Regions from separate parts of the Homo sapiens genome. Here all the other regions are linked to region 3. The links are contacts of gene promoters, found by promoter capture Hi-C in blood cells and fetal thymus (Javierre and others, 2016). All regions are on one chromosome and are shown on one strand. Each heading gives the region's core, a stretch centred on a gene start or on the middle of the fragment in contact. The rest is flanking DNA. Distances are from core to core; before and after follow the strand shown. Region 1 overlaps FRMD5 (FERM domain containing 5). Region 2 overlaps FRMD5 (FERM domain containing 5). Region 3 holds the start of EIF3J (eukaryotic translation initiation factor 3 subunit J). Region 4 overlaps WDR76 (WD repeat domain 76).

Region 1 (7,732 bases), core at 2,750-5,249, 670 kb after region 3:
CCAAAGTGCTGAGATGACAGGTGTAAGCCACCATACCCGGCCTGTCGTCTTCTCGATATATCAAAATAGAGTGCAGTGGCTACTGCTGCTGGTCATGTGGGTGTGCAGAATGGTACCCAATAAAACACAATGGGTGCTACTGGAAAGCAAAGGGTGCATTGGGACACAGCCTACTCATGTTCCTTTTGCCTTTCTAGGCCTAGAGTCCTTACGGGACAGTGCCCATTCCACACCAGTGCGTTCCACTTCCCATGGGGACACCTTCCTGCCTCACGTGAGAAGCAGCCGGACAGATAGCAATGAGCGAGTAGCTGTGATTGCAGACGAGGCCTACAGCCCTGCAGACAGCGTGCTGCCCACCCCTGTGGCTGAGCACAGCCTGGAGCTGATGTTGCTTTCCCGGCAGATCAATGGAGCCACCTGCAGCATTGAGGAGGAGAAGGAATCTGAAGCCAGCACCCCAACTGCTACAGAGGTGGAGGCCCTTGGGGGAGAGCTGAGGGCCCTGTGTCAGGGGCACAGCGGGCCCGAGGAGGAACAGGTGAATAAGTTTGTTCTAAGTGTCCTCCGTTTGCTCCTTGTGACCATGGGACTCCTCTTTGTTTTGCTCCTCCTCCTGATCATCCTTACCGAGTCTGACCTTGACATTGCCTTTTTCCGTGATATCCGCCAGACCCCCGAGTTTGAACAATTCCACTATCAATACTTTTGTCCCCTCAGGCGATGGTTTGCCTGCAAAATCCGCTCAGTGGTGAGCCTGCTCATTGACACCTGAGAAGGCATGACTCCTCCCAAAAACTAGCCAGGTGGACCAAGGAACCCGGCTACCCATTCCCAGCAATGGGACCCATCGCGGAACCATCGGCACATATACCAAGTCCTCCTCTCATGACTCAAAGTCCACTGCAGCCTAGGAGGGTGTTTCCCAGAAGAAGAAAGGGATAGGCTCATGCCCTGTCTAAACAAACTGGGAAAACTCATTTTCTTCAGAAGTTATTTCAAGAAAGGCTCAGCGACTCTGTTTCTCATCTTTCCAATTTGCAGGATAATTTTTGGTTTTGAATTTTGATTTTTCATAGATGTATATTATTTTGAAGTATCAAATAAAAATAATTTATTTTACTATTACTGATTATTGCAGTAGTATCACCTAGCAGAGGGGACACTAGTTGAAAACTAGAGAGCTGCTGTCCTCTGTATTCTGCAGGAGCTTTTCCTGCTGGTGCCACTGGGTTCCAGTAGACTCATCACTGCAGCCTCAGCAGGGCAGGCCAGGGATCTGGACAATGGGGACTGTTTAGTTTTTTGTTTGTTTTTTTTGCCAGCCAGAACTTTTAAAAAAGTAAACATCCATGTAGAATGATTAAATGGAAAGTTGCTTCTTATGATGGTCTGAGTTGGATTTTCTTTTCCTTTTGTTTTTTCAAATCTGAGCAGAGTGGGCATCTGAAGGGACCACCGCTACAGCAACAGCAGCATCAGGGGTGGGGTAAGTCTGTCCCCTTAGTCTAGAGCCTAGTGGGCATCACCATAGTTTTGTATAATGAAACTAGACTTAACGTGATTTTTTTTTTCCGAAGAACCTCAAGACTTTTATAGTGCTCCAGGGGCGTTAAACGAATTCAGTGGTACCAGAGATAGATAGTTCTGTCAGAAATGTTGGACAAAGTGTAGTTAAGAGAAAGCAGAGTTAAGTTACCTGAGAGACTGTTGAGATTTGGATAGCAGTGCTTATTTTATATACACCCCCTTGACCCAAAGACTATTTCAATTTATATTTTAACAACGAAATGTTATTTTCTTAACAATTCATATTTTGTTTTTACTTTATGGATTAAGAAAATAGAGCCTGATGAACTAAACGATGCAAGAAAGAAACTGATCCTGAGAATGAAAAGCTTCAGAAAATAGAATTCCAAGATCAACAGCCTTAGAAGGGACCAGGAAAAGAATCTTTTAAAATAGATTTCTAAGAGATGCCTACAAAACACAGAATGTGACCGTGGCAGAGACCAACACTTAGATGTAGAAATGCTGCCCCCTAGGGTCATCCTCTGCATAAGTTCTAGGAAAGCATCACCATCCTTGCAGAGGGAAGTCCTCGAAGCACGCAGCACAGGCATATGAAGGGCGAGTGTGGGATCCTAGGCCCAAGCTCTTCAACTCTAAAACCAATCACACACAAGATCCTGTTTTCATCTCAGGGAGAGATTTCTAAGTCATCTGGGGCTTGAGGGCTTATTTAAGGGTGGTCAATGGACATATTCCTGGACCCACACAAAAGTAGAGCAGCTGCTGATACCCTAATTGGACAGCCCCAAACGCAGAACAGAACAAGTCACTTGTAGACTTGACCTCCCCTATTTTGTCCCCCGAGATGGTAGAACCATGTCCATGTTTACAATATGACAACTGTGGAATAATTGGGGTTCTTAGGGAGAGATTTGCATAATTTTAAAGACATCCTTTCATCTGGACCAGAGGTCAATCAACTTATGTCAAGTGCTACACAGTAAATATTTTGGTTTAGCACGCCATACTGTGTCACAACTGCTCAATTCTGCCATCACAGCACAAAAACAGCCACAGATAATTTGTAAATGAAGGAACATGGCTGTGTTCCAATAAAACTTTATGAAAACAGTGAGCTGAATTTAGCCTACAGGCCATAATACGCCAATCCTGCTCTAGACAATAAAACTGATCCTTACCAGTATGTTAGCAGAAGAGGGTCAGTCAGCTCTGTTTCCATGCCTGACATGTATCAAAGATCTGGGACCTCTTCCCAGTGGAGGCACTAGGGTTGCTTGTTTAAAGGGTGCTTGAACAACTAACCAGCAAAGAGATGTCTGATGCCAAATGGGCAAGATCAAATACTGGAATGCTAAAACACAGCTGGAATCTAAGAAGGGAAGAGGGCTTCTCTGACCATTTTCATACCAGCAACAATTTAGGCAGAATTATAAACATCTATTTATCGAGTGACAATACAAACCGAAGGAGATCCTAGTAGAGATTAGGGGTCAGTTAAAATCAACTAGCCACTGCCACTTGTCATCTACATAGCAAAGGCTTTATTTAGCACAGGACTAACGTGAAAAGTAGACCCAGAGATGAAAAGGCTGTCAGGAGACAGGGGGCTGGTGTCCACCTGGTATCTACTGTCTTATGCAACATAGAAGATTACCTTTTAGTGTAGTGCTCCTACCTCAGTTTGTAGAATCTGGTGTTTCTATGCAGTGAGTGATAGCCTCAACTCTGACCTTTCATATTCACATTAGAGACAGATGCAGTATTCCATATCCTAGTATGTTCCTTGTGTCTAGAGTTCTAACAGTACAGTAGTCTATGCCATTTCTAACAGCTAAATTTTGCTCTGTAAACAGAAACTTTAGGGTTGTTTTTTTCCAGGGCTCATCCCAGAAAATATGGATAGAAAAGTTTCCTTCAGTTTGCTTTTCAAATAGTGCTTGAATAATAAACCTCCTTTGATTGGTGACTAGTCTTTTTTGGTATATCTCCACCTTTAAAAATTGTTCAAGTTTTTAACCTGGTTATACTGTGTTCTAACATGTCTCTCATTTTCTCTCAAAATTAGTTTATCTCATTGTAGAAAAAGCAATGGTTTTCATAGCTTCATCTATCAGGAAATAAAACTCTTACTAAAGAATAGCATACTGCATCTTTAAGCAGTAGAGGGTAAACTACCTGCAAATGTGAATTTCTTAGATACATTTAAAAATATATAGTTGTTAACCTTCTGTGTGCCAAAAACTCTTAAGTTACATTTTCCTTCAAAGCAATGTACTTTTTTCTACATATGCAGTATGTAGTTAGCATAAAATCATTGGTGCCATGAAGATTATTTTTAAACTTAAATAAATATTTAAATATCATGGAAGAGTGGGCTCTTTCTTTAATAATAGCCTGTCTTACTTTTCCTCCCTTAAAGTTACTAACACATAGATAAAAGGATACTGGTGGGATTTACACAGCTGACTACTATTCACTTGGATCATATAACATAATTATTTTGCTTGTATCCACCTATTATCCTTGTCCTTACCCCCAGATAAATACTGTTAGAAACTGAGAAGCGGCCAGGCACAGTGGCTCACGCCTGTAATCCCAGCCCTTTGGGAGGCCAAGTCGGGAGGATCACGAGGTCAGGAGTTCAAGACCAGCCCGACCAACGTGGTGAAACCCCCGTCTCTACTAAAAATACAAAAATTAGCCAGGTGTGGTGGCGGGCGCCTATAATTCCAGCTACTCAGGAGGCTAAGGTAGGAGAATCGCTTGAACCTGGGAGGCGGAGGTTGCAGTGAGCTGAGATCACACCACTACACTCCAGCCTGGGTGACAGAGCAAGACTCCACATCAAAAAAAAAAAAAAAAAAAAAAACTGAGAAGCTATATATGTAATAATTTTAAAGTGAATTGGGTATTTTTCTGATGAGGAAAACCAAGAAGACTAAGTGATTTTCCCAAGATTACATAGTGGTAGAGTCCAAACTAGAACCCAGATTGTCCACCTTCTGGTCTGCTGTTCTTACTCAAGCCTGGAGTAAGTGGGAGCACAGAAAATACTTTCTAAGAAGGAACTACAATGATACCACCACCACATATTTACAAAATATATCCCTATAGCATTATCTCATCTGATTATGTAACCATCACTCTGTGGCTACGGAATTGGAAATGGTCTTCTAAATTCCATGAGGATAAGAGGTGATAATGGGGGCTTGGTCCACTGTGCTAGCTTCTTACCTAATCTTTGTCTTTTCAATTCTGCCTGCCCTCCACTCTCCCATTTCTGTTGCCAGATCATCCTCCTAAACACCAATCAGGCTATGTTACCTCCAAATTTCAGAGGTACCCACTACCTAAAAAATGCTATCTAGCACCCTATCCCCAGCGGAATTTTTTGTTTTTATGACATAAGATTTTGCTTGAAGTGATCCAAAGAGTAAAAAGCACAAGAAACACTGGACCTGGGTGGCTTCCCGTGGCCCTGCCGATTCACAGCAGCCTCCCTTCTGCTGACAGCTTATCAAGAACTACCTGTGCACACACCCCTGTAGGACTCTAGTCCCTACTCCCTCTGCTTTGGGTTCCTCTAGCACAATCTAGCTCCTCTGCACCTGAACACACTTTTGGTTTTAGCTCATGAACAGGCTTCCTCTTCAGACCCCTACGACCTGCTGATGGAATGGAGTAAAACAAGCAAAGCACCCTTTTAATAAATTTCCTCTTGCCCAGTTTCCATTTTGGGGAAAATGTATCATAAAATGTTTTGTTCTTCAGCTCCGTGTAAGTGTACTAAATGTTATCTTCCTCATAAATTCTACCTTTTCATTTGAAAATCCAAGTATTTACAGCCAAATAAGTCAAAATACAATCTGCTGTCTTGTTATTTCTAGCCATCAACACCCTACTAAAAAGCAGGGGGAAATGTACTAAGTCAGAAAGGACCGCCCAATAGGACATTGAAGTTTTTGGAATCTGAAGTTAGAGGGCATATATTTCCTCTTCTCAGATTGATTCAGAAGGCATGTGTGTCTTCTCCCCCACCCTACCCCATGTACTGTACATTAGCTGAAAGGATTTAAATCCTTGTATCCATAGCCCTAAGGCTCCCTGTTTTCCTGGAGAACTCCCCTTGCAAAATCTTCTTGGTGGAAAGGAAGCTCAAAGACCAGAATACTAAAATAGGACTTAAGCAACTCAGATTCTATTAATTCCTAATCATTTGTGGTCTCTCCTAGTCTGACAAAGTCTCTGACAACCAAAAATGAGAATTGTCTGCTCCTTCCTTAAAAGTTACATAACAAAAGCCTGGGTATCTTAAAAAAAAAAAAAAAAAAAAACTCAAGCGGAATTCAGAGCTTAAGAGATATCATAAAGGCCAAACTTACAGAAAAGGCTTATCCCGAAGGAGGCAATCATAATACACACATAATTACAGAAGCCACACAGCTGTAGGCAAGTCTGTGGGAGAAGTACCTTTCACTACAGATTACAGTGTAAGAATGTCCCAAGGGAGACAATTTTCTTTTATGTGCTGTCTAGATTTAAACAATTACTCCATTAGAAAGCTTATCACCAATAAAAAAAAAAAAAAGTCCCTACTCATTCTCCTTCCTTCCTGCACTGCCTGAAGATATAACTCTATAAAGTATAACTGAATATAAATAGCACTGTTTATGAAGCCACAATGGCAAAAGAAACCACAAAAGTGAGGAACATCAAGAATTTGCTAACATTTATTGACGAGCCCAGGCAATTACTGCCAAGTATTCAAAGCTTAAATGATGGTACTAATTTGATTGAGAGTAGTTTTCAGCATCTTTAAAAACAAAAACAAAAACAATTCCCGTAGAACTAACCACTCTAGAACCCATGAGATTAATTGGTATAGAAATGAAAAAGGGAGCCTAAAGCCTTTACGATGTTTCCTGAACAGTTTAATTATAACTCAACCTCACCTAGCTTTTCTTTCCCTTTATAAATTAACATTTCCATCTCACTTGTCAATTCTTCTACTTATATCAACTAGAAAATAGAGAACTATTGCTTATAAACACCTAAACCTATTAAAAAACTAAACCTTTTTACACTTAGATTACAGAGAAGAAAATTATTTAGAAATTGGTTTTCAAGGAAATTGTATATCACTATATTTCTCTGATATACAATTATGGGAAAATATTTCCTCTTAGAATTCAAACATATTGCCAAAGCCATTTACAAGTCTTTCAGTATTTGGCAATGAAGAATAATGAAAAAAGTTGGATAGATGTCACACAGTAATATTAGTAACTGATTTGGCAGCTCCCCTCCCAACAACAAACACATTGAAATTACCATAACTTCTGAAAAGAAAACATTTTCATAAAATACCAAAAGTGGTGAGTATTTCATAATATTCCCCCAAATACAAGTAAGAATGAAGGTATTCACTTAACAGGCTATTGAATTTCCTTCGGACAGTTTAAAGATCGGGACAGGTAAGCCTGGGGCCTTCTTCATTCTAAGCAGTAGCTTTAACTTCTTTATCCATTACCCATGGTACTATAGTAATAAAATATATATATATATATATTTTACATCAGAATACACATAAACATATATACCTAACAAATATATATGCATATGTAACTAAGTTTTACCAAACAATACTTACTCAAATATATTTTCTGTTCTTTACAAATTCTTTCCTTTTCATTTTTTTCAACACCAGTCATTGTCATCTAACTTGATTTCATGTGAAGAGCAAAAACCCAGTCTGAAAAACACAGGTCTGAGGCAATCTTATACTGGAATGCCGGGACCAGGGCAGATCCCAACCCGGTGCTTGGGAGTCCTGCCTGTGTCTCAGGAGCCATCTAGAGTAAAGGCAAAGTACAGACAGACCCAGACCCCGCCCTGGGTAACCAAAGCTGCTCAGCAATTATCTTGGCATTTCACGTAAGACTTAACCTACAGGCAGGGGGCAAAAAAAGTTCTCAGTTAAAAAAATCAAGTTTTAAAATCACTGAGTTACATTACCTTTCCGGGTCCCCTTCCAGTGTATGAGTCTAGAAATAAGTATTCATTATAAACTATAAAATAAGCCACAAATTACTATAGAATCAAAACTGTATCATTAGATCACAAAAACTTTAATAGTCAAAGCTTTGTAATTTATAATGTTAGAATTTCTCAACATACTGTCTTGATTACAAGTTCTGAT
Region 2 (7,457 bases), core at 3,199-5,698, 650 kb after region 3:
GTACCATTTAACAACCCCATCAGCAATGCATGAGGTGTTGCCATTCTCTTTGGATGTTCACAGCAACCTTCTAAGGTTGGTATCATTATAACCTACAACTTACAGATCAGGACACTGAGGCTCAGCAAGTAACTTGCCTGTAGTCATGCGGCTGGCAAGTGGCAAGGCTGAGACTCAAACTATGGTCTTGTGATTCCAGATGATATGCTTTTCCCTCTGTGACCTACTGCCAAGTATTAACCCTGCATCACCTATGAACAGCTGTGTTTCTTACCCTTTCACCTCTGTGCCTGCATCACCCGATGAGAAGTCTTTCTGTGTTGCAGGACGTGTCAGGAAATGCTGCATTTCTGGCCTTCACTCCTTTTGGGTTTGTTGTTCTTCAAGGAAACAAGAGGGTCCACTTCATTAAATGGTGAGCATCTTCATTTCCAAAATAGGCTCTTTATATCTCACCAACTGGGGAGGGGCGACGGTTCCCGTGTCCTTTGTCTGTGATTGGGCAGTTCTGGTTCAGAGCCCTCTCCAAAGCCTTGCGTTGATGGTGGTAACTGACGAAGGGAGTGGTCTCTTCCTAGGGATCCTTTTCTTCTAAAGGGGTGTCCCTGAGAGCCAACAGCCTCTCCAGAAAGGAAAAGGGATACAGAGGTTTGATTTCTGGGGAGGGTGAGAGGCCTGGGGCTGGAGCCAGTGTTAGCGGAGCAAAGTTCCTGTGAGAACTGAATCCTTGGGGCCGTCACCCACTGAGGGTCATAGTTAGCCCTGTTGAGCCGGCTGTTCTGGAGCATCTCTGTGGATGGCTTAGTGCCCTTACCTGCTCTACTAACAAGGGAGGGGCTCACAGACAGTGACCTCTGGGGCAGATATAAGTCCTTTGCTACTTTGGCAAAACACCCTCCTCAGACCAGCCCTCCCTGTGGGCATCGTGTCTGCAAAAGCTCAGTTGCTGCTGTCTCACTCCTATCCCTCTTGGGCATTTAAGTGTCCTCAGCTTCCAGGAGTCATATTCCCACTCTTTCTTCCTTCCCTCCCTTCTCCACTCCCATCTAACAGGCAAGAGCCACTGCCTCAGCTGCAGCTACTCTGAGCTGCTTCCTCTCCTGCCCCTCTCTGTTTTATTTGGGGTCTGTTCTGCTGCATGCCTCTGGGCAGACTCTGGTTTGTTGATTGACATTTGGCTTTCCTGGAGACCCTTTAGCTGGCCAGCCCATACAAACATCTGTCAGCGTCATCAAAACATTTTGCATATTCTACTAAGCTCTTGTGATTTCTGTACCTTCCTGGGCCTCAGACTGCCAAGTCTAAGCTGGCCAGCTCCTTCTAGGGGCTTAGATAAGTGGCTTCCCTTGGTCCAGCAGAGCTCAGTGGGGGGAAGTCTGTTTGGTTTGTCTTCTCCAGGAGAGCTCATGAGGAATCTTGAGTACAGTTGCTTCCTAGTCAGCGTTCTGCTGGGGACACTGCAGACCATCTATCCCGCTGTGCCCTCTTCAGCTCCCCCACTGAGTTTGAGCTTGAGGACAGATACCGCCTTTCCAGCCCACCTTGATTTTGTGAAGGAGGGCATTACGATCGTCAGCCAGAGTGCTGGTGAAACTGCTCCTCACACAGGACAGGAAACTCGACTCCCCAGGACAACAGCCGTGCCACAAGGCAGCTGCTGCCCTGGAGTTACCAGAATACACCCCAACATACCTGTTTCCTAGGCATCCTCAAGTCGGCCCACTTCACTGTGCTCTCTGGGTGAAGATGTGAGGATTTGCAATCTCCTGTCCAACAAAATGCTTTTCAGAAAAAGGCAATGAGCAGGATCAGGCCTCAGCCCTCCTAGTGTGGGGTCTCTGCTGCCTGGATACATCTGGGCTATTTGATATTCTTTAGAGGGCCCAGATCCACATTCCAACCAGAGTAGCTGTTGGGTGAGGTCCCTGTTAGAGGGAATGTTTGGCTAGAAACAAGTAGGACACACCTGTCACAGACACCTGCAGTCCCTAAATTATACCCACCCTTCCAGAAACCATGATGGCTCTTGGTTCTCACAGACACTTTTCTTTCCACGGCTTCTCTCATGCACCACTTCTTCTAGAAGTCTCCTCTTCACCATGTGTCAACTCTGTAATAATAGATGTAAACCCAATCTCACTCTCAAAATAAAACTCCTTACTTTCCTAGCTTGCTTGTTGGAACCTAGGTGATCTGTGTGCTTGTCTATATATTAACCAATTGGCATTATTGTACTGTGTGTGTATGAGATTGATGGTTGATTGAGAGGGAGTTTGAGAGGGAATCAAACAGGGAAGGAATACCGTGTGACTTGTGTTAGCTCAGAACTGGTGGTCAGAAGTTGTGAAATCTCATCCTGACCCAGCCATGATTTTCAGGAGCATGGAGAACAAGTGATTTTCCTCTGTCCCCTGAACTTTTTCCAGCAGTAAGTTGGGTACATGATTCTCGCTACCTTTCTACTATTTCCTAGGAGATGAAGGAAATCTCCTTAGAAATTACAAAAAAAAGCAGCAGCCAAGTGGAGGTGAATGTGCATGACAAGACCGCCTTGGGGGTCCCAGTTGGGTTGAAAAATGGGGCCTCCAGTGACATGGAGAGGGCTGAGAGACTCCAGAGGGCAGCTATGTTGGGCAGATAGAAGGGAAGTGAGGAGCAACCAGTGCTGAGGCCTAGTTCCATGGCTCTCAGGGACATTCACCTAAGACCCAGTAGTTTTTCCGTTTTGCAAATGTAACCAAGGCTGAGAGCAGGAGGTGGATGTGGAGGTGAGGTCTAGGCCGTGCCATGTACAGTAACCATGTCACTTCTTCTGATTTGTGTCTGTCCCACGGGTGATGTACCCCAGTATCCTGTTTGCCTCTTTTACTGCAGCCATTCACTGGGCTGGTGGCTTCAAGGATTTTTCTACAATAACCCCTAAGCCCCTTTCCTGGTCAGTACGCTGCATGACTGTTCCATGTAATCTGTTCTCTCTCTTTGGTATGTTGCCCTGCCCCGCTCCCTGAGATTGTTTGATATTTGTCTGCATTAAACTGCATTTTCCATCCAGTGGCACAGTCACCTGAAAGACTCAACTCCCTCAGAACCTGGTTGCATTGTTTCTCATTATTTGCTGTATCTTGAACTTTGGCCTCATCAGCTACCTGTGGCATCTTACGTTTGACAGTCCCATCCAGATAATGCACCTGTGTTATGAACCCAATCCTGAAATGACCCCAGATACTCTACCTAGACTCACTTTCCATGCAAATGTTTCCCTTTTACAGCCACTGTTGATAAGCCCGAAATCCTCCTGTCACCCTATTACTATAGTGTGATTGACCAGAAAACTGTGGATTGAACTGTTTCAACAACATTCTCTAAGGCCACTGCGCTGCTGTCTTGTTTCAGTTCTGATTTTGGCTAAAATTGTGTCTGTGCCTGGAGCCCCTTCCAGTTGGGGTGGGCTGTGCATCTACAAGATTTAGCTGTGAACAAGCAGCCCACAATGAGGTGACAGGCACTATCTTTGTGCTTCTAGGAATGAGGTGACCAAGCTGAAATTTGAAGGAAAGACTTTCTATTTATACGTAAGTCAGAAAGAGGTGAGTGCTGGCTTCCTTCTCTTCAAGGAGGGCTGGGGTGATGGGATGCTTCCTGGTGGCCAGAGCCAAGCTTGAGGGACCCCAGTAGAGCCAAGCTACCCACATACTAAGCCAAGACCAAGGTCAGGACCTGGAGGTACAATATGAAGGAGCGGGAAGGCCCTGGAGCACAGGACTTCCTCAGGGATGCTATTGACACCCAGAGCTTCCACTCAAGAGATCTTTACCTCCAGGAAATGCAAAGGAAGGCTCTTTTTCTTTCGTGTATATGGGAATTCCAGAGGCAAGGGCAACTTTCTCACCAAGAGCTCTCCTGGTTCAATTTGTGCCACTTTTGTGCCAGCTGAGACTTACCCTGATTGGACTTGCCAAGTATGATGTGATGCACTTAACTGAGCTCTGCCTCAGTGGGTCCCACAGGCCCTCCCCTCTAACTAGCCAGCTGCCAGGGCCTCTAACAGCTCTGGGGTCAGGGTCCTCGCCTACTTCACCCTTTGCTTCTCCATCCACACTCAGCCATATCAATGTGGAATTTTTTGCAGGAAAAGAAAATTATTCTTACATATTTTGCTCCAACTCCTGAAGCGTGTAAGCACCTCTGGAAATGTGGAATCGAGAACCAAGCCTTCTACAAGTGAGTGGATACATGTGATGGGGACTGTCTTTCTTAGAGCCAGAGTCAGAGAGAGTCGGTGACAGGAGGCCAAGTGCCCAGGAACTTGGGGCGGGGTAGCTGGAAGTGGGCAAGAGCTTGACAGTTACTGAGAAGCCAGGTTGAGGCCAAAGGCAAGAGCTTTGCCTACCAAAGGGATTTTGTAAAGAATGTGGGGCTTTTGTGTTGTTTTCTTCGGTTAAGAAAGTGGTTATAAAAGCATTAGGTAGTGAAGAAATGGCCCACTGAGGGCATGATGCCAGGTAAAATATGTCTCACTAAGCCCTTTGGTCTTGTTTTAAAAATATACCGTAATGATTTATGCTTTACTAAGATGTATCTGAATGAGGTCAAGGCAAGACAGAGTGTGGTATATTCTACCTGGGGTGAGCCCTGCTCTCACCAAATGCCCCTGATTGGCCAGGTCCCAGTTCCAGTAACCTGAAGGATCCTGGAGAGATGAGAACTGCTCTGGGATGAGTGGCACCATACTTCTCTCCAGGGAAGATTCTGCTGCCTGCTGGCTGCTATGGGATGCTGGCTGGCAGAACTGGGTCCTCCCAGTTGCCAGGGCCACAGCCCCAGAAGCTGTTTCTTAGACAGGCATTCTGAATTACTTAATTCCCATTATGTGTTTATACCAGAACCAAGGATTCACTGAATCGGCAGCCTTTCTTCTCCTGAATATACTCGGGAGACTTTGGCATGGTCACACTTCCCTCCTGTTCAGTCCCTACTGTCCATAGAAAGTCAAGAAAACATTTATTTTCTTTTGCTACCACCCTCCCTTTGCCTGTGAGGATGTAATCCAGGTTTGGCCAGTTACCTGAACCTAGAGAGAAGCAACTTGAGATGCAAGCTCCTGCCTGTGGGACTGAGGAGCAGCCCAAGAACTGGGGTCCCACGGGTCTCCGCAGCAGAGAGAGGAAGGCACTAGCCGACAGGGGCCTGCTCCACACTGAACTATCCCTGCCCTGGGAATGGCATATGTGGAAGCTTTCCCTTTCTCTCTACCAAAGGGTAGAGAAGAAGCAAACAGAAGCAATCTCCTTGCCTCTTGTCTTTTCATGCCTTCAGCAGCATTTCTTAAGGGCTTGGTTTTCCCATCTGTGTCACGGAAACAGAAGTGTTGCTTCTGAACCTGTGACCTCACTCAGTTTCTGAGTCTTCCCACGAGTAGATCTCCCTACCCACCCAGCCCTGCCTGCACCCACACTGGAAATGGAGGTCATTTTTCAGTTTTCCATTGCCTCCTTAATGTTCTCATCAAACGGTAAAAGCCTGGGTGAGATCCCCAGGTATGTCAAGTCTCTGGCAGCAGCGCTTTGGCCTTGCCCTCAGTGTCTCTCACATACAGATCCCTAGTCCTGCCTTTGGCCTAGTGCCATGGCAGGAGCCCAGTCAGATGCAAGAACATGCCCAGGCTCCAGTAAGCAGCTCGGATGTCCTGGAGCCCTGAGACGGGCAGGGATGGTGTCTCCCAAGAACTGTTCATGGATTGTGGAAACAGCTCCTACTCACTGCTCATAGCACAGGTTTCAGACTCACATAGGTTACTGGTTGGATCAGTACCATAGGCACCTGGGCATGTTACAGGTGGATCCCATCTTAGGAGGCTTCTCTCTGAGCTGCTGTGCCCAAGCTGAGAGAGCTAATGGGCTCAGTGAAGTCACCCAGGAGAAAGTATTACAGAGCTCCACATCGGCTGTCTGCAGCTTCAAACGAGATATAAAATAGATATCCTGGGGGAGGGAGAAAGGCTCCAAATTCAAATACATGACGGACTTTTATTAAAGTTAAGCTAGTTTCTTCATCGCAGGATTTCTGTCTTTACTGTGGTCATGTATTTTAGGACCCTCCAAAAGGGAGATGGAACAGGAAAGACAGCCCCCACCCTCTTCTCCACCCACAATTACCCAGACATAGACACAAAATCAAATACTGGGACTGGAAAGGAGACCCCTAAGGTCCAGTAGTCCCAGCTCTATCATTTTATAAAAAGGGTGAGGCTAAGAGAGAAGGAAATTTGCCCGAGGTCACACTGCTAATAAGTGACGTGGCTGAGATTAGATGGGCATTCTATTATTCCCCAAGACCATCCACCCGAGCATGTATTCTCTCAGTCCCCCTGGTAAAACCTATGAAGCATTTTGGGGGAGCCTTCACTCTCCTGACACTAAAATGGGTTTCCATGTTGACAGTCCTGGGCACTGAGGCAGGAGAGCAGCTGGCTGTGAGCACAGCCCCCAGATCCTAAATGAGAGTCAGAGACAAATGTGGACTATGAAGGGCTTTTTTCCTGAAGTTTCAAGTAGCCTTTGGAAGAAGCTGGGGATGTGCTGCCTTAACCTGTGTGAGGCAGTTCAGGCTGTCTATCACACTGGACTTTGCCTTGCTACAGGCTGGAGAAGTCAAGCCAAGTCCGCACAGTGTCCAGCAGCAATTTATTCTTTAAAGGGAGCCGGTTCCGATACAGGTAAATAGTGACAGTAAGTAACCATTATGGATCTATTTTCAGACCCTTCTCTGGAGAACTCAGTGGTCCTTATCCTTTAGAACAGAGAAACCAGGGAGGACTCAGAAAAGTCTGAGGTCTCCATCTAATTCTCCCATCTTATGACCCTTTTACTATTTCCTTCCTTCCCTACAGCAATTTGTCTGTAGGGTTTTAAATGTATATTGGCCGGCCATAGTGGCTCATGCCTATAATCCCAGCACTCTGGGAGGCTGAGGCAGGTGGATCACTTGAGGCCAGGAGTTTGAAATCAGCCTGGGCAACATGATGAAACCCCATCTCTACTAAAAATACAAAAAAAATTATCTGGGTGTGGTGGCACACACCTGTAGTCCCAGCTACTTGGGAGGCTGAGGTGGGAGAATTGCTTAAGCTCAGGAGGTCGAGGCTGCAGTGAGCCATGATTGCACCACTGCACTCCAGCCCAGGAGACAGAGCAAGACCCTGTCTCCAAGAAAATGAAAAATAAATATGTATCTTCTCTTTCCCTTACAATAGCAAAATAAGAACTATAACAGTGATTCATGTCTCACTGTCTAAAGGTTGTTCTTATGTGTTTTTTTGTGATGTAATTGGAACATGCTGGAAAATGAGGAATTACTCCTAAATGAGAATGGAAGATCCTAAAGACTCTAGAGATGGAGAGAGTTCTCTCAGATAGGCTGTCATGACAGTTTAGAAGTCTACCCCACCAAGCAAGCCT
Region 3 (6,885 bases), core at 2,357-4,856:
ATTTGGTGATATGGCTGAGTCTGCTGGCTCACGCCCATAATCCCAGCATTTTAGGAGGCTGAGGAGGATAGATCACTTGACTCCAAGAGTTCGAGACCAGCCTGGGCAACTTGGCGAAACTCTATCTCTACCAAAAACACAAAAATTAGCCAGTCTCACAAATCTGTCTCAAAATAAATAGGCCAGGTGCAGTGGCTCACACCTGTAATCTCAGCACTCTGGGAGGCCAAGGCGGGAAGATCGCTTTAACCTCAGGAGTTTGAGACCAGCCTGGGCAACTTGGCGAAACTCCACCTCTACCAAAAACACAAAAATTAGCCAGTCTCACAAATCCGTCTCAAAATAAATAGGTCAGGTGCAGTGGCTCACATCTGTAATCCCAGCACTCTGGGAGGCCGAGGCGGGAAGATCACTTTGACCTCAGGAGTTTGAGACCAGCCTAGGTAACATGGCGAAACCCTGTATCTACAAAAAAAAAAAAAAAATATATATATATATATATATATATATATATATAGCCAGGCGCGGTGGCTCACGTCTGTAATCCCAGCACTTTGGGAGGCCGAGGCGGGTGGATCACGAAGTCAGGAGTTCAAGACCGGCCTGGCCAAGATGGTGAAACCCCGTCTCTACTAAAAATACAAAAATTAGCTGGGTGTGGTGGTGGGCGCTTGTAATCCCAGCTACTCGGGAGGCTGAGGCAGAGAACTGCTTGAACCTGGGAGGCGGAGGTTGCAGTGAGCCAAGATCGTGCCACGGCACTCCAGCCTGGGTGACAGAGCAAGACTCTATCTCAAAAAAAAAAAAAAGAAAAAAATATGTAAATTAGCTGGGCACGGCGGTGCACACCTGTAATCCCAGCTACTAGAAAGGCTGAGGCTGGAGAATCACTTGAATCCGGGAGGCGGAGGTTGCAGAGATCGTGCCACTGCACTCCAGCCTGGGAAACGGGGTGAGACCTTCTCTCAAAAAATTAGATGAATAGATAGATTGCTTTAAGTTAAAAAAAAAAAAAAAAAAGAAAAAGAAATTTAGCACTAAAACAGCAACTGGGGCCGGGTGTGGTGGCTCACGCCTGTAATCCCAGCACTTTGGGAGGCCAAGGCGGGCAGATCACAAGGTCAGGAGATTGAGACCATCCTGGCTAACACGGTGAAACCCCGTCTCTACTAAAAATAGAAAAAATTAGCCGGGCGTGGTGGTGGGCACCTGTAGTCCTCGGGAGGCTGAGGCAGGAGAATGGAGTGAACCTGGGAGGCGGAGCTTGCAGTGAGCGGAGATTGTGCCACTGCACTCCAGCCTGGGTGACAGAGCGAGACTCCATTTCCAAAAAAAAAAGAGCAACTGGACAAGATAATCTTTGTGGTCCCTTACAACTTGTAAATATCCAAAACTTGTTCCAAGTGATCAGAATTATATTCATCAGAGGCTGGGTACGGTAGCTCACGCCTATAATTCCAGCACTTTGGGAGGCTAAGGCAGGAGAATCACCTGAGGTCAGAAGTTCAAGACCAGCCTGGGCAACATGGCGAAACCCCGTCTCTACTAAAAATACAAAATTAGCCAGGCGTGGTGGTGCGTGCCTGTAATCCCAGCTACTTGGGAGGCTGAAGCAGGAGAATCACTTGAACCCAGGAGGTGGAGGTTGCAGTGAGCCAAGATCGCGCCATTGCACTCCAGCCTGGGCAACAAGAGCGAAACTCCATCTCAAAAAAAAAAAAAAAAAGAATTATATTCATCAAGATCGATACCATTTAGATCCCTTAATCCCAAGGAAGTTATTCCATGACATTAGTCTAGACTATCCATTAAAACTTCATTTTCTGCAACTTCTTTCCTAATATCTCTAATCTTTTCTCTGCATTTGTTAATTTATTCCCAAATTTCATAACAGATGTCTTAACTGCCACTTCCTATATGCATGGAAAAAAATGAAAGGACCAATATGAACCCAAGGCTCAAAACTGAAAATCTGCTACAATGTAGAGGGGTAACTAATATCTTGTAATGCGGCTGGTAACAAAATCTAGTCCCATGTTTCTACAACATGTAAATAAAGCATCTGAGTGTCTTCAAACAATAACCAGTCGATTTATTAACTTCAATGTGTGCAAAGCTCACAACATTCTTGAACCTCAGGCTGTCAGTAAATCGGACATCCACACATCCAACCTCATCGGACTGGGGAGAGAACAGAAAAACTCAAAACAACATTCCTATTAAGTTCATAGTGATTATCTAGCTTAAACTTTTCAGCCCAGGCAGGATTTATAGGGTTCTCCGTTTGTGTTTATAAATTAGGAGAAATTCACTAAATTAGGCAAAACCACAAAAAAAAATCATTTTCCATTTCACACAAAACTTTATCTGCACAAATATAACAAGATTTTGAGAACTTTGTTAATAAGAGTCTTAACATTTTGGATTTGAGACTTCTGTAACTACTGTAAAAAAAAAAAAAAACCATGTAGAAGTAAATGTCACTTACAGCTGTATAATGAACCCTTCGGAGTTTTCAAAATCAAACGACTGAGGTAAAAATGATTATCTACAAGGCACAGACAAAACAACAACAACAACAAAAAACCACGGGCCCGTCATCTACAACCACCACCAAATCTTCAATATTTCCTTAGGTGTCGTATGTGTGTAGTTGAGTAACTGTCGTCTCTCCATTTCTCAGGTCACGGTGTGAACTACCTGGGTTTCTGTCCACTAACTGCGGGCTATCTCAGTGGTCAGTTCATTCTTTTTACCACAGGGTGGGGGAAGGGAGAGCCAAAAGTTATTTCCCTTTACTGTTTCTAGCTGTCTCGTGTGGGAAAAAAAGGTTGAAATTCAACTACAATATTTCACTCATCTAATCCCTCGAACAAACTGTATAAGTAGACCTCAGGGTCATAAATGAGTTACTGGCCCTGGGCTGACTTGAGCTCGAAAAGACAGGCGAGTCTCAAGGCTTTCCATATGGATAAGCTACAAGGCTCAATTCCCAACTTCCCGGTCTCATTCCTGCGAGAGGCTCCGGACCGCGAAGCTTGCACGTGGGCCGACCCGGCCGATGCTGTCACCTTTCGTCGCCAGCCGGCGGGTGGGATCCACGCCGGAGAGCAGACTCTCAACCGGCGAGGGAGTCCGGGAGGCCACGCTGCCAGTCTTCGGCCCACACATGGCCGGCAAGCGGAGGGGAAGAGAGCACCGCCAGGCCCTATGCTCGCGCCTGGACCCACGGCCCGCAGGCCCCGGCAGCGACCCGGGGCCCAGAGTCGGCCGGCAACAGCGCCAGCCCGCTTCCGCGCTGCCCGGCGCCCTAGCCCGCACCCACCTTGACGTCCTCGTCCTCGTCCTCGCCTTCCCAGCGGTCCCCGCCGGCAGTGCCGCCGCCCCCCACCTTCCGCACTGGGTCTTCCACGGAGAAAGCGTCGGCGTCTACGGAAGAAAGCGAGCCGTGTTAGTGCCTGCCACTGCGTGGGGCCGGCGCCGGCCCGGGCCCTGCCCCAGCAACTTCTCCTCACCCCAGGAGTCCGAGTCCCCCGCCGCCGCCGCCGCCGCCGCCATCTCGAGCCGGGTGTGAGCGTGTGTGAGAGGGAGAGCTAGCGAGGAGTTAGCACGGCGGAGGTGAGTCACTGGGTTTGCTCTCGTTGACCGGCGCGGAGCAGGATGGGACCGTGGCTGACTGTGCGCCGAGCCGAGGCCACGCCCCCTCAGGCGGCGGCGGCGACGCGCGCGGGTAAGAAGTGGGCGGGGAACGCGGTCGGTGGCGCTGCGGGGCTGAGGGAGAGGCGGAGGGGGGGGCGGAGGGGGGCGGAGGGAGGGGCGGAAAGAGCAGAGGGAGGGGCACAGGGGGCTGAGGAGTGCTGGGTCGGGCTTCCAGCTCCCTACAACGCAGACCAGTACTGGAGTTCGTGGTGCTGGAAGACCGCCGCCCGACTCTGGGCCCCGGGTAGGAAACGTAAGTGCCAGGAAGTTAGCAGAGTGGTTCTTTGGCTGGCGCCTGAACCTCGCCAGTCTTCGTCGCCCCTCCCCTGCCAACGCCTACCCCGCTTCGACCGGAGGGTGCGCTGTCCCTCTGGTCACTGTGATCACCGTCCATGGCCGCCTGCGGATACCCACGCCGTGCTCAGAAGAGGGCTCTGAGGCCACGCCCGCCTGTGGGGTCGGTGGCCGGGCTTCCGGGACCCCAGAGGGAGTCGTCGCGCGCTAGGTGGAGGGGACCCCTCTGGAATCCGGCGATCCCCGGGCGCAGATGCAGGAGCGGGTGGGGAGAGCCGCGTTCCTGGCATGTTTGCCTCGAGTTAGTCACGAAGGAATCGAAGAGAGCCTTAGTCTTCGAGGCTTTTCCCTTCCTGTGAGCCCCTTTGAGGCCAGCACATTGATTTTTTTTTCTTTCGCAGAACAATTTCGGACCTCCTGGGGTCTATGCTAGGTATGAGGTGTATCTTTGCCCTCCATCAAGTAGCAAAGATGGACATGTAAACAAATTTCGACACTGTGATGACTGCCACAAAAAGCAGCATTATGAGGTTGAATGTAAAAGGATAACCTTAGCGGCGGCGGGGGCCGGAGGATGAAGGAAGGCTTCCTGAGGTAGGCGCTGGTTGAAACTGAAGTTGGAGAGAGCAAGTGGCATTTGCTGAAGTGCATTTCCGGTAGAAAACTCCAGTGGTCCCTCACCTGACTGAGTGGCGCAGTCAGAGATAAATGGAACAGGTACACTGACCAGAAAGGGCAAGATGGGCTAAACTTCGCCGTTGGGCCACTGGGCTCCCCCGCAGGATTTTAAAGAGCTAGCCAGTAGATGGATTTTGTTTTTGTTATTTTCGCAATTTATTTTCAAATATGTAATACGCGAACTTGGTACAACATTCATGTGATAAAAAGGTAGATACGTGGGCAGGACGCGGTGGCTCACGCCTGTAATCCCAGCATTTTGGGAGGCCGAGATGGGCGGATCATTTGCTGTCAGGAGTTCGAGACCAGCCTGGCCAACATGGTAAAACCCCACCTCTACTAAAAATACAAAAATCACCTGGGCGTGGTGGCGGGCGCCTGTAATCCCCACTACTAGGGAGGCTGAGGCAGGAGAATCGCTTGAACCCGGGAGGCGGAGGTTGCAACAGTGAGCCGAGATCGCGCCACGGCTCTCCAGCCTGGGCGACAGTTAGACCCGTCTCAAAAAAAAAAAAAAAACAAAAAAGGTAGATACAACGATCAGCTGCTCCGCTCCGTTCTTTCTAGTGGTAACCATTGTTCCCCCTTTCTGGTGTTATCTTTTCAGAGTCTACAAATAAACATTTTATAAAGATGATCCTTCAATACATATTCTACAGCCCAGTTAAAATGTGAGAGGCCATGATCTACAGACAGCCATTTATAAAGGTGGATCAGGGCCGGACACGGTGGCTCAACGTCTGTAATCCCGGCACTGTGGGAGGCCAAAGCGGGAGGATCGCTTGAGCCCAGGAGTTCGAGACCAACCTGGCCAACATGGTGAGACCCCATCTTTACAAAAAAATATATATATCCAGGCATAGTGGTGTGCACCTGTGGTCCTGTGGTCCCAGCTACTCAGGAAGCTGAGGCAGTTGAGGCTGCAGTGAGCCACGTTCTGGCCACTACACTCCAGCCTGGGCATCAAAGTGACAAGACCAAAAAAAAAAAAAAATGTGGATTGGAAGGAGGCAAGAAAGAAGTCAGGAAAAGGGTGGAATGTAAGTCCCTAAGGACACAATCTTACTCACAATTGTATCTCCAACATTTGGCATAATGCCTAATACGTAAGTATTTTATGAATTAATTAAACGAGAACACAAGCCTAAATTAAGGCAATGGCAATGGAGAAGAAGAAACCAACTTGAGAAATATTTAAAGGTCATTGTCAATGGAACTTAGTGACTTTAATGGTTAATTTTATCTATCAACTTGGCTAGGCGATGCTACCCATGTTACTCAGTTTTTGGTCAAACACTAGTCTAGTTGTTGCTATGAATTGTATTTGTTAGATGTGATTAACATTTAAATCAGCAGACTTTGATTAAAGTACATTACCCTCTATAATGAGGGTGGGCCGCATCCGGTCAGTTCAAATTAAAACGAGACCCTTAAGAAGAAGCAATTCAGCCTCCAGACTGCAGCGTCAAATCTCCCTGGGTCTCCAGGCTGTTTGTCTGCCCTGCAGATTTCAGACTTGCCAGCTCCCAGAATAATGTGAGCCAATTCCTTAAAATAAATCTCTTTCTGCATATACACATCCTATTGATTCTGTTTCTCTGGAGAACCCGTACTAATATAGTGTCTGACTAGATATGAAGGAGGAGGGGAAGGGAGAAATAGATAGACGATGCCTTTGGATATTGAGTGACACTTATCTAGTTGCTTAAGTCAAAAACCTGAAAACTGGTTAGGCACGCCTATTACGGGCTCACGCCTGTAATCCCAGCACTTAGGGAGGCTGAGGCAGGCAGATCATTTGAAGTAATTCAAGACCAGCCTGGCCAACATGATGAAACCCCAAGACCACTAAAAATACAAAAATTAGCCGGGCGTGGTGGCACATGCCTGTAACCCCAGCTCCTCAGGAGGCTAAAGCAGGAAAATTGCTTGAACCCAGGAAACAGAGGTTGCAGTGAGCCGAGATTGTGCTACTCCACTCCAGCCTGGGAGAGACTCCATCTGAAAACAAACAACAAAAAAAAATGCTGGGCACAGTGGCTCACGCCTGTAATCCCAGCACTTTAGGAGGCTGAGGCGGGCGGATCACCTGAGGTCAGGAGTTCAAGACCAGCCTGGCCAATGTGGCAAACCCCATCTCTACTAAAAATAAAAAAAAAATTAGCTGGGCATGTTGGCGGGCACCGTAATACCAGCTACTCGGGAAGATGAGGC
Region 4 (6,840 bases), core at 1,410-3,909, 690 kb after region 3:
TGTTGTTCAGGCTGGTCTTGAACTCCAGACCTCAGGTGATCCGCCAAACCTTGGCATCCCAAAGTGCTGGGATCACAGGTGTGAGCCACCGCGTCCGGCTGTAATACAGATTTTTGGAGTCATCATGAAAGATATGAAAAAAGGATTTTTATGTATGTCTTAAATCTATACAGATCAACTCATCCAAAAAAAAACCTTCATTTAATCATGCTAATTTTCAATTTTTCCTTTGCAAAATTCTTCAAAAAGTAGTCTCAGATGGGTGTGGTGGCTCACACCTGTAATCCCAGCACTTTGGGAGGCTGAAGCAGGTGGAGTGCTTGAGCTCAGGAGTTTGAGATGAGCCTAGGCAACATAGTGAGACCCATCTCTACAAAAAGTTAAAAAATTAGCCAGGTGTGGTGGCACATGACCGTAGTCCCAGCTACGCAGGAAGCTGAGGTGGAGAATTGCTTGACCGTGGGAAGTTGAGGCTGCAGTGAGCTATGATCATGCCACTGCACTCCAGCCTGGGCAACAGAGTGGGACCGTATCTCAGGGGCGGGAAAAAAAAAAAAAAGTCTCTATCCAATGCTTCTCCAGTTCTTTCATTACCCCCATACTTCCTTAATCTCCTAAAGCCTTTGTTCCTTACTTACCTCATTGTCAAAGCTATTCTCTCAACTCACTACATGGTACCCTATTTTCAAAATCAATGGCCTTTTCTCCATTCTTTTAACTTCTCTGCAAAAGGCTCTGTCAACCTCCCATCCTTGAAACTCATCTCTTGGCTTCCAAAACATACTATTCTGATCTTCTTCCCACTTTTTTGCTTCAGTTTTCTTTGCTAAATCCTATCACCTCCTATCCCCACTCACATCTTATCAAAATAAGGGAGAATCTATGATCCCAAAATAAGAACTTGGTTTCTGTCTTCAAACTTGCAAATTTTGTTTATAAACCCCAACCAACTTCAAGTCACCACTATTTCTTCACCTTCATTAATTGTCCTTATGGCATTTTTCATGTCTTTGGTCTTCTTCCCCAATAAGAAAATAAATTCAGAGAACATTAACTTGACTTTTCTCAATTTTGTAATAACAGACAGTATTTCATGCAGAATTATATGCACAATGAATGGAATTCAGTATCTATTTCTGACTCATCAAAGATAACTAAAATCATTCCAAAGCAGGTCCCTGGGAAGATATTTTGATACAGCTTAGAAACTGTTTCTTAGTCCATTTGGGATGCTAAAACAACATACCATAAACTGAGTGGCTTATCAACAGCAGCATTTTATTTCTCACAGTCCTGGTGACTAGGAAGACCAAGATCAAGCTTCCAGTTCATTCAGTGTCTGGTAAGGGCCTACTTTCTGGTTCATAGTTGGTGCCTTCTAGCTGTGTCCTCATATGGTAGAAGGGACAGTGGTCTCTCCTGGGTTTCTTTTATAAGGGCACTAATCTTATTCATGACCTAATCACCTCCCAAAGGTCCTACCTCCTAATACCATAGGGATTAGTATTTCAACATATGAATTTTGGGGAAGACAAAAACATTCAGACCATAGCAGACCATATTTTAAACACAACTAGAAAACTAAACTTCGGGCTGGGCGCCGTGGCTCATGCCTGTAATCCCAGCACTTTGGGAGGCCAAGGCAGGCAGATCACGAGGTCAGGAGATCAAGACCATGGGGAAACCCCACCTCTACTAAAAATAGAAAAAATTAGCCAGGCATGGTGGCAGGCGCCTGTAGTCCCAGCTACTCGGGAGGTTGAGGCAAGAGAATGGCGTGAACCTGAGAGGCGGAGCTTGCAGTGAGCCGAGATCACACCACTGCACTCCAGCCTGGGCGACAGAGCAAGACTCCCTCTCCAAAAAAAGAAAACTAAACTTTGATCTTTTTTTTTTTTTTTTTTTTTTTTTTTACACAGAGTCTCGCTCTGTCGCCCAGGCTGGAGTGCAGTGGTGCGATCTCGGCTCACTGCAAGCTCCCCCTCCCAGGTTCACGCCATTCTCCTGCTTCAGCCTCCCGAGTAGCTGGGACTACAGGCACCTGCCACCACGCCTAGCTAATTTGTTCCATTTTTAGTAGCGATGGGGTTTTTTAGTAGAGACGCGGTTTCACTGTGTTAGCCAGGACGGTCTCGATCTCCTGACTTCGTGATCCACCCGCCTCGGCCTCCCAAAGTGCTGGGATTACAGGCGTGAGCCACCGCTCCCAGCCCTTTTTTTTTTTTTGAGACGGAGTCTTACTCTATCACCCAGGCTGGATGGCACAGTGTCGACTCACTCCAACCTCCGTCTCCTGGGTTCAAGCAATTCTCCTGCCTCAGCCTCCTGAGTAGCTGGGATTACAGGCACCTACCACCACGCCCAGCTAATTTTTGTATTTTTTTACTACAGACGGGGTTTCACCATGTTGGCCAGGCTGGTCTCGAACTCCTGACCTCAGGTGATCCGACCGCCTCAGCCTCTCAAAGTGCTGGCATTACAGGCGTGACCCACCGCACCCGGCCACTTTAAATGTATATGTGAAAAGATCACACAAAGTGTAACAAAGTTTTCTGGCAGTTAATTTATGACCAGATGGTTAATGATATTCAAGCTAAAAATATTAAAGTTCTATAAAGCAAATTTAAATTCTTCCAGATTTCTAAAATTTGGAATCATAAAGCATCATAAAGCCCAAAATTGTAAGTCTCACGCAACATTTATAAACACATGGCTCTAGCCTATTCTCTTCCAGCCTATTTGCTTTAGTCAAACTATAATATATTCAAGAAATTTAATAACTTACCAAATCACAAAGTCCAACTTGCCCAAATTTGGCCCCAACTGCTACCAAAGTTCTAGTTTCTGATGGATGGAGAGCCATAGAGAATATTGGGCCTGTGGTAACTTTGTAAACGGTATCTTCACTAATGACCATGCCATTTAAATTGGCTTTGTAGCTAAGAAAATTACAAAGTTAAATTTTGTAAGTAAAACCAATCTCAATAGTCAAAATAAGTAAAAGATTATTCAAAAAGAAAAATCACAATTAGCAAATAAATATGGGAACTATTCAATCTCCTGGTAACCAAGGAAATCAAATTAAGCAATATTCTTTCACTTTTTAAATTACCCTTGATAATTTTAATAACACCAAAAGCTGGTAGGCTGCAGTTAAATACACATACTCACACATATTGCTAGTGGAAGAGTAAGTTCATATAAAATGTTCAGAAGAAAAAAAAAGACCTTTGAGCAACAATTCGGCAATGTGTACTAAAAGCCATAAAAATGTTCACAATATTTGATGCATTAATCTCACTTCTGGAAATCTAACCTAAAGAAATAATCCACTATCATATCCATATACTTCAACAAACACATACACAAACACACAAAGCTAAATGGAAAACAACCGCAAATACCAAGCAGGTAGGAGGAGAAGTGAACTCCTTCTACTCAATGGAATATTTTATAATTATTCAATAATTTTAAAGACTCTAGTAACATGCAACCGCAAATGAAAAAAAACATAACGCAGGCCAGGCACACTGGCTCACACCTGTAATCCCAGCACTTTGGGAGTCCAAGGCAGACAGCTCACTTGAGCCCAGGTATTCAAGACCAACCTGGGCAACACAGCAAAATCTCATCTCTACAAATACAAAAATTAGTGAGATGTGATGGTGCACGCCTGTAGTCCAAGCTACTTGGGAGGCTGAGGTGGGAGGATCATTTGAGCCCAGGAAGCGAAGGTTGCAATGAGCCAAGATAGTGCCACTGCACTGCAGCCTAAGCGATAGAGGGAGACCTTGTCTCAAAAAACAAAAAAAAAAAAAAAAAAAAAGAAAAAGAAAAAAGTGTAATGCAAAATTGTATATACATTACAACATATAGTAAAAATGTATGTGGATTCACTCATTTATTCAACACTGAACATATATTATGTGCCAGGCACTGTTCTGGTTATTGAAATAGAATTCTTGCTTATATCCTAGTGGTATTGTATATGAAGCTTATATCCTAGTGGTATTGTATATGGCAACACTTGTGAGGAAATACACAAAAACAACAGTTGTTAGGGTGGAAACATTTCATCTCACTTTCAAAATTCCCTAAAATGGCGTATAGTCTTTATAACTCAAACATCTCAAAAAATATAAAAGAAACACAAGGAATTTCAACTTACCTTTTAATGCTAGATAATCCCTTCTCAGTGTTCTTACTACTTGGCTGAAACATTGGGAGAGATGAAAGAACTAAGTTAGTATGTATATATTTTTACATATATATATATTTCCTTAACAGATGATTCTAAAGGCTATTGGCCTTCCCAAGTGATACCTTGCTCATTCCTGCCCATGTGTGCAGAAATCCTTTAAATCGTTCATTGTTGTCTTCTTGATTTTCAGAAGTCATTTCTAAAGGCCCAGGAGGTAACAAAGGCTGTTATAAAAAATAAAAAGTTATTTGTTGGGCTCCCTGCCCTAGAATATAAACACAAGGAGGGCAAGGGTATTTGTCTGTTTTCCCCACAACTTCACTTTCAACATCAACAGTAATGGTGGCATATCATGGACATTCAAAATAATTGTTCAATAAATGAATGCCAGGTACCCTATAAAGTAATAATAACATGTATTATCTCATTTAATCCTCTCAACAACCTAGCAAATGAGGTATCACATTTTAAAGACAGTGGATTGAAACTTAGAGACTGTAATCCCAGCACTTTGGCAGGCCGAGGCAGGCGGATCACAAGGTCAGGAGTTCGAGACCAGCCTGGCCAATATGGTGAAATCCCATCTCTACTAAAAATACAAAAATTTGCTGGGCGTGGTGGCAGGCACCTGTAATCCCAGCAGCTCAGGAGGCTGAGGCAGGAGAATCGTGTGAACCCAGGTGTTGGAGGTTGCAGTGAGCCAAGACTGCACTATTGCACTCCAGCCTGGGTGACAGGGCAAGACTCCATCTCAAAAAAAAACAAAAAACAAAAACAAAAAAACCCCAGAAACTTAAGAGGAGTTAACTTGCCCAAAGTCACACAGCCAATAACTGGAGAAGCTGAGAATTGACTCAGATTATCTTAACTCATTACTCAGTATTATACCTACATCAGTATTTTTTTAAACAGTTTGTAACCAATTAGTGGGTGAGAAATCATGTTAGTATGTCACAACTAGCAATTTGTTGTAGTGAATGAGAATAGAATAGAAATACCAGGCCAGGTACATGGCTCACACCTGTGATCCCTGCACTTTGGGAGGCTGAGGCAGGCAAATAGCTTGAGGCCAGAAGTTCCAGACCAGCCTGGCCAACATGGCGAAACCCCATTTCTACTAAAAATACAAAAATTAGCCATGCGTGGGCCGGGTGCGGTGGCTCATACCTGTAATCCTAGCATTTTGGGAGGCCGAGGCGGGCAGATCATGAGGTCAGATTGAGACCATCCTGGCTAACGCAGTGAAACCCCATCTCTACTAAAAATACAAAAAAATTAGCCGGGCGTGGTGGCAGGTGCCTATAGTCCCAGCGGAGGCTGAGCCAGGAGAATGGCATGAACCTGGGATGCAGAGCTTACAGTGAGCCAAAATCACAGCACCGCACTCCAGCCTGGGCAACAGATTGAGACTCCGTCTCAAAAAAAAAAAAAAAAAAACAAAAAAACAAAACTTAGCCAGGCGTGGTAGCACACACCTACAGTCCCAGCTACTCTGGAGGCTCAGGCATGAGAATCACTTGAACCCGGGAGGCGGAGGTTGCAGTGAACTGAGATTGTGCCACTGCACTCCAGCCTGGGTGACAGAGGGAGACTCTGTCTCAGAAAGAAAAAAAAAAAAGAAATACCAAAGTGCACCACATGTATTAAGTGTCGTTTGACAAACTGTGGTTTCAGTTGCATATATGTGTGATAGTTACAATGTAAATAAATATATATATATATTTTTAAATTAACGTCTCAAGTGATGCTCCCACCTCAGCCTCCTGAGGAGCTGGGACTACAGGCACATGCCACCACACCCAGCTGATTTTTGTATTTTTTTTGTAAGAACAGGGTCTCTTGATGTTGCCTAGGCTGGTCTCAAACTTCTGGGTTCAAGCGATCCTCCTGCCTCAGCCTCCCAAAGTGCTGGGATTACAGGCATGAACCACTACACCTGGCCACAAATATATTTCTTGTGGGCTGAGGCTTCAAAAAAATTTGAAGCTACTCTTCTATGCTGCTTCCCATAACACCTAGATTTGCAATTTGCTCCCAAAACACCAGCCTAATTAGTGCTATCTTCCTATTTACAATTAAACACTTACATATAAAGTATTAAAAATAGGTGTTCTTGAATAAAAAATATTTAGAAAATGTTTGCTAAATAAAACTCTACTCACTAAAACTACACATTATCACGTATTTATTAACATTAATAACTATATTCTATTGATTACTAAGCCCCTAATATGTGAGAAACTTTATAGATATGATTTCATTTATCTTTACAGTAGCTCTTTGAGGTTTTTTTTTTAAACTGACATAAAATTGTACATATTTACTGAGGGTTCTATTATTGCTGACTTTTTTTTAATGGAGAAACAATCAGAAAGGTTAATTAACTCACCCACAATCCTAAGCAGGTAAGTCCTGCAGAAATACAGAATCCAATACAGTCTTTACGACTTCGAAATCTTACTCATTAAAGCGTACAAATGGGCCGGGCACAGTGGCTCACACCTGTAATCCCAGCACTTTGGGAGGCCGAGGCAGGCAGACCACTTCAGGTCAGGAGTTCAAGACCAGCCTGGCCAGCATGGTGAAACCCCGTCTCTACCAAAAATAAAAAAAATCAGCCAGGTATGGTGGCATGTGCC

Evidence for each region. The method cuts DNA at HindIII sites, captures the fragments that hold promoters and counts their contacts. A CHiCAGO score of 5 or more calls a contact.
Region 1: a fragment that was not itself captured here is called in contact with the fragment with the promoter of EIF3J in region 3 in 3 of 17 cell types (endothelial precursors, megakaryocytes and M1 macrophages); the score reaches 7.5 in endothelial precursors.
Region 2: a contact is called between a fragment that was not itself captured here and the fragment with the promoter of EIF3J in region 3, in 1 of 17 cell types (endothelial precursors). The highest score is 6.4, in endothelial precursors.
Region 4: a contact is called between a fragment that was not itself captured here and the fragment with the promoter of EIF3J in region 3, in 3 of 17 cell types (megakaryocytes, endothelial precursors and erythroblasts). The highest score is 5.7, in megakaryocytes.

Annotation. Positions count from the first base shown.
Region 1 is chr15:43,866,928-43,874,659 of GRCh38, reverse strand. It overlaps FRMD5 (FERM domain containing 5), which reads left to right. Exons shown (of 14, transcript NM_032892.5): 14 at 198-3,896. The coding sequence ends at 775. It overlaps WDR76 (WD repeat domain 76), which reads right to left. Exons shown (of 13, transcript NM_024908.4): 13 at 6,248-7,732. Among named protein-coding and RNA genes, the nearest start is that of WDR76, 44 kb to the right of the region's middle. The HindIII fragment of the contact is 4,197 bases long and covers 1,901-6,097 here.
Region 2 is chr15:43,884,939-43,892,395 of GRCh38, reverse strand. FRMD5 (FERM domain containing 5) reads left to right here. Exons shown (of 14, transcript NM_032892.5): 8 at 327-415; 9 at 3,524-3,587; 10 at 4,130-4,221; 11 at 6,641-6,715. Among named protein-coding and RNA genes, the nearest start is that of WDR76, 62 kb to the right of the region's middle. The HindIII fragment of the contact is 1,578 bases long and covers 3,660-5,237 here.
Region 3 is chr15:44,533,868-44,540,752 of GRCh38, reverse strand. It overlaps EIF3J (eukaryotic translation initiation factor 3 subunit J), which reads right to left and starts at 3,606. Exons shown (of 8, transcript NM_003758.4): 1 at 3,516-3,606; 2 at 3,326-3,429. The coding sequence starts at 3,558. EIF3J-DT (EIF3J divergent transcript) reads left to right here and starts at 3,830. Exons shown (of 2, transcript NR_034170.1): 1 at 3,830-4,710; 2 at 5,279-6,248. RefSeq lists silencers at 3,104-3,153, 3,174-3,483, 3,674-3,843 and enhancers at 4,014-4,463, 4,151-4,938. The HindIII fragment of the contact is 7,095 bases long and covers 3,040-6,885 here.
Region 4 is chr15:43,840,000-43,846,839 of GRCh38, reverse strand. It overlaps WDR76 (WD repeat domain 76), which reads right to left. Exons shown (of 13, transcript NM_024908.4): 6 at 4,324-4,425; 7 at 4,169-4,212; 8 at 2,786-2,939. Among named protein-coding and RNA genes, the nearest start is that of WDR76, 16 kb to the right of the region's middle. The HindIII fragment of the contact is 2,674 bases long and covers 1,323-3,996 here.